Linked DNA regions of Homo sapiens: regions 2 and 3 are each linked to region 1. Evidence: promoter capture Hi-C in 16 types of primary human blood cells and fetal thymus (Javierre and others, 2016). All regions are on one chromosome and are shown on one strand. Each heading gives the region's core, a stretch centred on a gene start or on the middle of the fragment in contact. The rest is flanking DNA. Distances are from core to core; before and after follow the strand shown.

What was found. The method cuts DNA at HindIII sites, captures the fragments that hold promoters and counts their contacts. A CHiCAGO score of 5 or more calls a contact.
Region 2: a contact is called between a fragment that was not itself captured here and the fragment with the promoter of LINC01088 in region 1, in 2 of 17 cell types (total CD8 T cells and fetal thymus). The highest score is 8.7, in total CD8 T cells.
Region 3: a fragment that was not itself captured here is called in contact with the fragment with the promoter of LINC01088 in region 1 in 1 of 17 cell types (fetal thymus); the score reaches 5.4 in fetal thymus.

Annotation. Positions count from the first base shown.
Region 1 is chr4:78,970,190-78,973,708 of GRCh38, forward strand. LINC01088 (long intergenic non-protein coding RNA 1088) reads left to right here and starts at 1,559. Exons shown (of 6, transcript NR_038342.1): 1 at 1,559-1,687; 2 at 2,811-2,863. The HindIII fragment of the contact is 4,785 bases long and covers 1-3,519 here.
Region 2 is chr4:80,227,217-80,230,735 of GRCh38, forward strand. No RefSeq gene overlaps it. Among named protein-coding and RNA genes, the nearest start is that of PRDM8, 31 kb to the left of the region's middle. The HindIII fragment of the contact is 3,701 bases long and covers 1-3,519 here.
Region 3 is chr4:80,208,802-80,212,320 of GRCh38, forward strand. No RefSeq gene overlaps it. Among named protein-coding and RNA genes, the nearest start is that of PRDM8, 13 kb to the left of the region's middle. The HindIII fragment of the contact is 1,021 bases long and covers 1,456-2,476 here.

The DNA of each region.
Region 1 (3,519 bases), core at 309-2,808:
TGATCCGCCTGCCTCAGCCTCCCAAAGTGCTGGGATTACAGGCGTGAGCCACCGCGCCCGGCCCTGAAGAATTTCTTTTAGCATTTCTTGTGTAGGTCTCCTGGAAAAAAAATCTGATTTGGGGAGAAGGGTATGAAAATGTCTTTATTTTTCATTTTTGTAGGATATAGGACTATGCTACAATTTTATGTAGAATCTATTTAGAATCCTATACAGAATTCCAGACTAACATGTTTCACTTTCAGCTCTTTAAAGATGTCATTCCATTGTTTTGGAGTAATTGTTTCTGAAGAGAAATTAGACATAATTTTTATCATTTTTTTCTTCCGTGTAATGTTTCTTTTTTCTCTGACTGCTTTTAAGATTTTTGTATCATCTTTGGCTATCAACAGAGTGAGTATGGTGTGCCTAGTTCTGTTTTTGTGTTTATCCTCTTTTGGGGTTACTATGATTCCTGATGCTGAGGTTTGATATTTTTAATCAATTTTGAGAAATTCTTGGCCATTATGTTTTCAAGGATTTCTTCTGACTCATTTTCTATCTCTCACAGATGCAATTACATATTTACTAGGCTACTTAATATTGTCCTAGAGATCATAGACTCAAGTTTTTCACTCATTCCCCCTTTTATTTATTTATTTATTTTTGGATAATTGACCTGTCCTCAGGTTTACTTCTGCTTTTTGCTGCTGCTAATAGGCTACTGTTGTGTTTTATGGCCTGTTAGACTCCTAATATGTATTCTCTTTTGATGACAGTGTATTTTAAAAACAAATTTTGACATTGCAGTTTGGTTTCTTTTCATACTTTTCATTACTCTGCTGAAATTCTCTATATATTCATGCATGCTCTCTACCTTTTCCACTGAATTATTTGACATATTTATCATAGTTATGCTGAAGTTACTCCCTGATAAATCTAACGTCTGTGCTTTCTAGAGTCTCAGCCTGTTGACTGTTTTCTCATTTGATTATTGCTCACATTTTTTCTCTTTGTGGGTCTCAAAATTTTTTACTCTATGTTGGATATTGTGAGAAAAATAGTAGAGATTGAGAAAATTAATATTTATTTACCCTAAAAAAGTGCATACTTTTTTTGTTAGACCTTTTCTTGGGAAAGTTGAGGAAATCTGTTGTATATTTGAGGTATGTGGGATTATTTCAGCTTTAGTTGGATTAGTTTACCACTGACTTCAAATGTTTTGAAAACAGAATAAGGTCTTTTCTATCACTAGGGCTTGTGATCTGAGCACTGGCAAGATTTCAGAGATCTCTGTGTGCTCCCAGACTGTTTTGGTTGCTAGGGAGTTCTTTTTCCTTTCCTGTTTCTGACTTTATTAATCTCAGGAGGTCTCTCTTCTTTTTGCTCTGCTGCTTCAAGCCTTTGGCATCCAGTGCCTTGTACTTAATGAAAGTTTGCAACACTCTGAGCAACTGTTCTCAGTTCTTCTGCCTTATTTCTGGCCTCCGTTGCAACTGTTTTGACCTAGTGAAGGCCTAGACTTTCTCAGACAGATTTCTTTTAACTCTTCTGCCCTGACTCCAGTCTTCACTGGGATGCTGCCTTGCACTTAGGGAAGGTTCACATGCCTCAAGGATCTCTCTCTCTCAGATTTCTTGACTTTCCCTCAGTCTTCAGTATAGTCCTCCTCTGTGCCTGGTGAAGACCTGTGGTAAAGTGCTGGCAGGTGAGTACAGCTTGATGGTGTGGATGGGTTCCTTGGGACTCCAGCATGTCAAGCTAGTTCACACACAGGTCTTAATAGTTGTCTAAGATTCATGTAGTTCCTCATTTTCTTTTCTGTGGTAGATTCTGTTTCCTGCTGCACCACCAGGGATGAAAAAATTCACTGGTCTCTTCTTTTATAGAACGGGATCATAACTATACAGATTTTAGTTAAGTTAGCTTTATTAGTATTCTCAGCTTTTTTAATGGGATAAAAAGCAATGATATTATGGATTATCTGACTTTTCCTTTAGTATTAGGTTTGCCCAATCATCTCCATGATTTCTAAATTCCAAACTTCTTGAATAAATAAAATTTAAAAGAAAACATTGTACTAAAGTCAAAAGAAGGGTTTTAAGGCATAGTTCTACTTTTTACTGTCCATGTATCCTTGGATAAACTACTTCTCTGAAATTGTATTGCTTGCTTTTTCAGCTTGTTGAGTCTTTCATAAATTTAAGGGTTGGAATATGTCTCTCAGACAGAAATTGATAGAGCTTTGCAAGTCTTCAGATGTATTCAAGTTTGGTAAACACTGGGTTAGGCCATGGATAAAAGATTGGTCTTTGTGTGTTCATAAGAAAACCTGGATAGGAAGCTCTTCTTCTTACAGAAAGCCTCGATTGAGAAGTAAAGCTGGGACTATTAGTCCGTGTTCTGCAGTGAAATAATGGTAGCCATGCATAGATTGATTTAAGATCTATGCATGTTAAGATACCTGTCTTAACACAGGTAATAGTCACATCAGGGAAAAGAGCAACAGGCAGAACTCTTGGCTTTGTGTAAGAGCCCAAGGAAAGGGCCTGAGAGAGTACACACTGTATCAAAGTGTAGTGTTAATGTGAGGTGTCGGGAAAAAGGTCTTGGGTGTGTGTGTGTCTGCATAATATATGTGTGGAAAACTCTCAGTGCTGGTCCTTTGAGATATGTCTGTGAAAACTCTTTCAATTAACAAAAATAACCAACATTAATTGAATACTTTTTATGTGCCAGTCACTGTTCCAAGTTCTCTACAAAAGGTAATTCTTTAGTCCTTATAGTAATACTGTAGTGGTGCTGATACTATTTTTATCTTCATTTTTCAGAGAGGAAGCTAAATCACGTAAAAATTAAGAAACAGCTCAGCGTTTCACAGCTAGTAAGTAACAGAGATGGGCTTGAGACCCAGATTGGCAGGATCCAGGTCTTGTGCTCATGACGACTCTGCTATGGTGCCTCCCTTGAAAGCATCTTAGTGCTTTCATTGTTGTTTTTGTTATTGTTATTCTTACTATTATTTTGTACCCCCTTGGTGGATAGTGGCTGTGAATTTGTAGTTGTTGGTGTGTTTCTTCTGGAGCGTAAGCTCCTTCCTCCTCTATTGTTAGCCAGAGTTTTTGTTACCTTTGAAATAATTGCTAAATCAACAAAACATCTGTTACATTGCTGCTGCTCGAATGGCTATCTTTTAGAATTAGCACTCTTCTTTCTGAATCTGATGCCACAGCCTTTTGAACTTAAGGTATTTGGATGTGTCAGTAAAGGGGCTGTGGTAGCTGTGGTGACAGCAACTCCAATGGTGGTGACCGTAGAGAATGTGGCAGAGCTGTGAATGAGATGAAGAGATTTAGTGATGGCAGAGGAAACTTTGGGATTTCACAACTTTCTTCCTCCAAAAACTATTTGAAAGCAGATATGAGGAGTGGGAAATACAGAAACAATTCCAGCCTTTGTGCACCTTACAGCATAATGAGTGATGCTCACAGCTGATAAATAATAATAGCAAATACCTGTATAGAACTTACTATGTACTGG
Region 2 (3,519 bases), core at 582-3,081, 1.3 Mb after region 1:
AACTTCTAATGTTTCTCCCTGCTGCCACCATATTCTGCCTTCAGTGACTTGATACGATTTAAATTTAAAATAGTTATTCTGTCAGCTGTGCTGAGAATAGGCTGTAGAAGTGGGCACGAATGAAATCAGTGTGACCAATTGCAAAATTCAGGTGAGAGATAATTGTAGCTCCACCTGGGCTAGTGATAGTGAAAGTAGTGTCAGTAGATGATTAAATTCTGGATACTTTTTATAATGGGAAATTTCAAACTTATACAAAAGTACAAAGAATAGAATAATAAACCCACATGCACCCACCTTCCAACTTCAATAATGATCTACTTATGACCAACTTTTTTTTTTAAATCTACGACTTCCCACTCCTTGCTTTACAAGATTATTTTGAAGCAAGTTCCGGACAGCAAATCATTTTATTCATAAATATTTCAATATGTAATCTTAAAAGATAAGGAACATTTTTAAAACAAAAATAGACTATCACATTTTTCAAGTAAGATTAAATTCTTAACATCATCAAGTATTAAATCAGTGTTCAAATTTCCTTTATTGCCTTATACTGTACTAACTTTTTAATTAGATTGAATTAATAACTAAATTATAATTGATTTGTAAGTCTCTTAAATCTTCAAAAATCTACAAATCTCCTTTTAGTTTTTTCCTTGCAATTTATTTTATAAAGAAACTGGGCTATTTGTCCTATGAAATTTCGTATATCCTGGATTTCTTCTGATTACATTATTATAGTGTCATTAAATCGTGTTCCTCTCTTAACTTTAGTTCCTGTTAATTGGCTGTTAAATATCTAGAGACTTGACCAGAATTCTTCATAGATGGTTTTTATGAACACCTATCAGCAGCCACATGTTTGGTTATCTCTTTTAGGAATGGTAATGACCATTTCTGGTTACTGCCTTGACCCAGTATTTCATTAGATATTTTAAAAATGGGGATTTTCTTCTTCTAACATTTTTTCTTCAATTATTAGCTGGAATATTTTTATTTTTTCTTCATTTACTCCAGAAAGTAGAGCCTGAGACAAAGACTTGGATGCTGATAATTTATTATAAAAAGTGATTCCAGGAAACAAGATTAGGAAGAATGAAAGAGGGAAGGAGAGAAAGCCAACAGAATGGTATGCTGTTGAGTTGGCCACCATTGTGGGCACCTGAGATACAATCTTACTGGATTTCCAGAGTACCTGTGTAGAATGTACTTCACACATTTCTTTTCAAGGACAGAAGAGGCAAATTTATCCTCTGGCTCTGGTCCTCCACTAGCCAGTGGCCAATTTATGGGATATTAACTTTTTTTTATTCTAGGTTGTGTATGTACTGAGTGCCAGGAAGATTTCAGCAAGTGTTCCACACTAAAGTGACTGAGTCTCCCCAGAGCAAACAGAAAGAGACTAGTGGTACAGCTGAGGCAATGTGTTTTTAGGTTACAGCTACCTGAAACAGTCCTAAGTAATGGCCAGAACAGAAAGTAAAGCAAGAGGTTATGAGGCAGTACAAAAAACTTGCATGAGAAGAAAATTTCCCCAATTAACTATTTGATCATTTTGAGGTACAGGAAAATAAAACTTGATCTCACATTCTTATTTTTACCAGTTTTCAAAATAATGAGTTGCTTTGCTAGCATCCTCTATAGATGACTGGCCAAGGTGTGTTACTGTGTGTGTGTGCTTCTTTGAGGTACCATAATAAACTGGTAATATAAACGTATTTGGTAGGTTTGAGTCCACTGTGTATATAATTCTTATTGATGAGAAATTACTATAAGTGTTCTCAATAGCTATGCCTTCAAGTTGGCTCCTAAGTCTTTAACGGTCTTTGACAGCTTCCTTGCACTCTGGTTTAACAACATAGCAGAATTTCTGCTCCAGACCTTCAATCAGCCATGTCTCTAAGGACATGGTTCTATTAATAAGGAATAGTATTTAGAGATTACTTTCTGGACACTAAAGATGGATATATTTTAAAAGCAGATGCAAAAGGATTTCCTGATTGGACATGGAGCATGAGCAAAAATAAGTGTAATACAAGATAGCTCCAAAGTTTCTAATTTGTTCAACTGGAAGAATAGAGCTGCCATCGAGTGAGAAGGGGCAGTTTTCAGGTCAAGCAGGTTTGGGAAGTGAAACTGGAGGTAAAATTTGTACGTGGTGAGTTTATAATTCTATTAAAAATTCAAGTGTGGATATGCAATTGGATATAGAAGCATGGATTGGATTCATGGGCATATAGGTAAATGTTGGGAACCATGAGAGTTGTTGAATTCATCAATAAAGAATATTTAATTAGAGATAAGATGAGGACCAATGATTAAGCCTTCAGATAGTCCTTATGACAAAAGTAAGAGGTTGGTGAAATAAGTCGGTACCAGAAAAGATAACTGGAAAGCAGTGTCTAGTGGCTTAGGAAGCAAACCAATGTGGTATCCTGGAAGCCAAGTGAAGAAGGTGCTTCCATGTGTAGGTAATGATCAATTGTGCCAGTGCTGCTGAAAAGGGAAGAAAAACCAGGACTGAGAATTGTTCATTATATTTAGCAAGTTGACATAATTAGGGATCTTACAAGTGGTTTCAGTGGTATTTTAGAAATGAAAGTAGAATTGGATTGAGCATAAGCTATATTTGCATACAAGCTGCTGGTCCCTCTATTCTGTTTCACTGATTCATTTATCTCTGCCTGGGCCATTACTGCACAGTCTTAATTACTACGTCTTAACAGTAAATCCCACTATCTAGTAGAGCAAATTCCTCTTCCTTACTCTTCAGAAGTATCTTAACTATTCTTAATCTATTAGTCAGCTATAGACATGTACATAGAAAATCCAAAAGAGTCCACAAATAATTGAATAGAATGAAAAGAAGAGTTTAGCAAAATGACTGGATTTCAGAGCAATATATAGAAAGTCAATTGTATTCCTACATACAAGCAGCAAAAGCTAGAAAATGTAATGAACAAAAAGACACTTTTATAATAATCAAAGTGAACATCAAGGAATATCAAATATCTGGAAAAAAGTATTTATGCAAGATCTCTAATAGGAAAATTATAAAACATTATCAAGAAATATAAGAGAAAGCCTAAACAAATAAAGAAATATATCATCCTTATAGAGAGGAAAATTTAGTGTTATACCGAAGCCAGTTCTTCTCACTATATTATATCAAGATTAATGGAGGAGAGAAGAGGACTAAGGTAGGGCTTCAGAGAAAAGTTGCACTTGGAGGAGGGAAGAAGCAGAGGAGTCAAGCAAGAATTTCTGGAAGATGCAAAGAGTCTTCTTCAAGGAGTATTATGAGAGAGTGCCTTGGCAAATAAGGATGAAGAACATTTCCAGAAAGATTGAATAGTCAATAAAACTTGATTATATCAAGGCTGGATTTAAAATGTTCAGATCTGGCAATTAGGAAGTCATCACTGAGTTTTGCGAGAAGAGTTGCAAGGAGAGAAGTGAATGGGTAGGAGGGAAGTGGAGACAGTGGACTTAGAAAATGAAAGAAAGGAGAGAAAG
Region 3 (3,519 bases), core at 716-3,215, 1.2 Mb after region 1:
GCCTTCTAGCTTTGTAAACTGGCTGGGCAGCAGCTGCGGAGCTCTTTGCCTCTGCTTCATGAATCATATTCCTAAGGCAACCTCTGCTTTTCCCACTTTAGATATGGAACTTAGAACGTTTTAGAAACCTGTATTCTCCAGGCCTAGTGAATAAAGAAACTGAAAAAAATTTAATTCTTTTATTTTAATCTTTAGGATTAGAGGTCTGGTACAGGTGTTCTGTTTGAATAGCTAACCTGGTTATGCTCATTATTATTTGCTTATCTCTTTTCAAGTTGTGTGTGAGCATTAGAATATAAATCTATGCATATGTGCAGGCATGTGCATATGTGTTCAAATATGTAAGTATATATTACAAACTGATACACATATTTATATATACAGACATACATAAACATTTTAATCCACACACAGGCACATAACTGGCAGGCGTTATTCTAAGTGCTTTTCATGTGTTTACTTGCTTTAATTCTCACAGCCTACCCAAGGGCTACTGAGAATCCCACTCCATCATGTTTCAGCATTGTGTAGTTAGTACGGTTGTCACTCTGAAACAGAAAGATGAGAATGTGATAATGTAATGAAAAAATAGTGACTCTTATGTCAGGAAACCGGTTCCAAATTTTGTGGCCTTTCCATTTATTTATCTTAGTTTCCTTTACTTGAACATGTGAATAATACCACCTGTGGGCTTATCACATAGCGGTGTCTTGAAAAGCAAATATAATTCTACATGTAGCAGCTTTTTGTACTATTGAATATGATTGACTCCCATGTTGGTAAAAGAGATATGCTTTTAGCCTCAACTTATCTTTCTCAGGTAGTCAAAATGCTCTCATACCTCTATAAGAAATCTTTTGTGACCTTGACTTACTTTAATGATCTTTTCTCATTTTTAACCAGAGGTGGGAGTAATCGCTGGTTTGATTTTGTGGTTGTTTATGTAATTACTCAGGATTTTACTCTGTGCCTCAAGCTTACAGGAGAGTCACTGAAAAAATGTTTGATACATAATATCATGTAAGCCTATAGGTTCATTCATGATATATATATATACACACACACACACACACACACACACTCCACACACACATGCACCCCACATAAAACTATATATATATATATATATATATACACAGTTATGTGTATATAACTATATATATATATTTTAGTTGGCTTAGCTGTAATAATCTTAAATTATAAATACAGCGTGTTCCTAGTGCTTAAAAATTGTAAGTCAGCCTAATGCTAAGGATGGAAAAGGCTATAAGAGGAGTTCTAGATATAATTTGCCATGCTGTAGAAAGTATGGTTACAATGCAGGAGAGAAGCTTATCCCTTTTCCTAGTTACTATGTAACAAATTGCACCTTACTTAGAAAGCTACACTGTGCTCAGTGCTTAATGAAGACAATGTTCCCTCTACAGATCAAAACGGATCCCTCACTCCAGCTCAAGCTTTTTCCTGTTTTTAAATGGATCTTTAAAAATAATGCATGACTTAAAAAATCATAAAGAACTCTAATGCTGCTAAAACATAGAGACTTGAAGAATGCATACAATATCTTGTTTTCCCAAATTATTTAGAGAATAAATTCTTTAAGTAAAAAATAAACAAGGAAGGAAGGGAGGGAGGGAGGGAGGGAGGAAGGAAGGAAGGAAGGAGAAGAGAAGAGGGACGGAGTAAAGAAAAGGAAGGAAGGATGGAAAGAAGGAAGAGAGAAATTGGGAAGAAAAATAATCATGGGATTAATTTATCTAACTTTTTGTCCCTTTACTTCTTTTCCCACAAATGTCCAGCCACCAATTCCAAATTCCTCTCATACTGTTTTTTTTTTTTTTTTGGCATTTTCTTTGGAGAAGAGCCTTACTGTGGGTTTCAGAGTAGAAATCCATAAATCAGTCCCACCGTTGACTAAGATCTCTTGTGCACACCTGCTTCGAGGATTAAAATCTGGACAGGCATACCATGATTGCACTTTTCTCTGAGGATTCATCTCTGGGTGGGTGTGTTGGTGTTATACTATTGCCTGTGCCACTTTTTCTGTGTTTTGTTATTTTTTTGTGAAGTGTGAAACTTTTTTTTTTTTTAAGCAATTGATGACTTTTTTCTCTCTCAAACAAATGAATAAAGTCCTGTTTTACACTCTGGCAAAATTTCACTGGGTCTTTGAGAAAGACAAACAGAGCCAAACAGTGACACCCAGCCCCCAAATGGATGCAAATCATGTAATTAGAAAAATTTTAGTATCCATAGTGTTCAGTTCTTCTTTAGGCTAAGAGGTCCAGCGTCAGGGCTAAGCGAAGGAGGAGGAAAGAAAATAAAGGAAATATTCCTGCAAGGTCCTTCCTAGAAAGATAAGAGTTAGCCTTCAGGAAGGAGTAAATTGACTTTTTCATTAAAATGCTTTTGTAGACAGTGCTAGTTTAACTATTTGCTTTAGCAGGGCTAGGTGGATAAATGGTGAATGCCATGAAGCTTATTTTCAGGGACATTCGATCTGCTCCCTAAATTCCATCTCAGAACCTCCCATTTTCAATCGTCTCTTACCTTTAGGCTCTCTTAGATTTCCCTGAGTTCTATCCCCTCCAACAAAGAGGTAGTATCCAAAATTGCCACCTGTGTGAATAAACAGCAAAAAAAAAAAAAAAAAAAAGTCTGAATTTACATGAAGGTATTTGCTTCTCCATTTGCTTTTTAAAGCTTAATTTCTAATTTTGGAGCAGTCTAAGTAAAGATGAAGGATCGATATGCAGAGGTACTTCTCCACCAGGGTAATAATGCCTAAAACTCCTTCCAAATCAGAGGTATTTGACTTTGAGGCTGCATCTGAAAGTATTTATTAAACCTCCAAACATGCCTAAACTTAAAGCCAGGGAGATATTTAGGAAACCTAACATTCAAAAATCTAATTCCAAGCATAGTAAAGCTAATAGCATGGTAAAACAAGTCTCATCAAGTTATATGATTGCCAGCAGCTCACATTTGAATTTCTTAAATCCTTTAAATATTCAAAATACATTTATTTATAACAACTCAGAAATAGAAACTTGGAATTTTAGATATATATATTTCTCATATATATATTTCAGATATATATATATATATATATATATATATATATATATATTCACAAGTTACTCTCTTCTCTGGGATGGGGGCTTTCCTTTGAATACATTTCAGGAGAAGAAATTTAAAGTTTAATGTACAATTTCTGAGTGCCTGTCATACTGGCTCTTTACAGCAGCCTGCTCGAAGACCCAGGCACATGGCCAAATAGAAAATCAGATAAGGATGCTAAAAAGAGGGGACCTCTGGCAATGACTTCCCCATGTTATTGACTCCATAAGAAAAGGCTCAAAAAGAAGATAATTTCCCCCAATCCTTCCATCCTCAGAAAATTTTATTATAAACCATAGATAATAAGAGCTCACAAGGAAAGAAAAAGTAATACTATCCATAGGACACTGTAGAGTTAGATCACACAGGGAGAGACCTTTCTAAATCACCAAGGTAGCT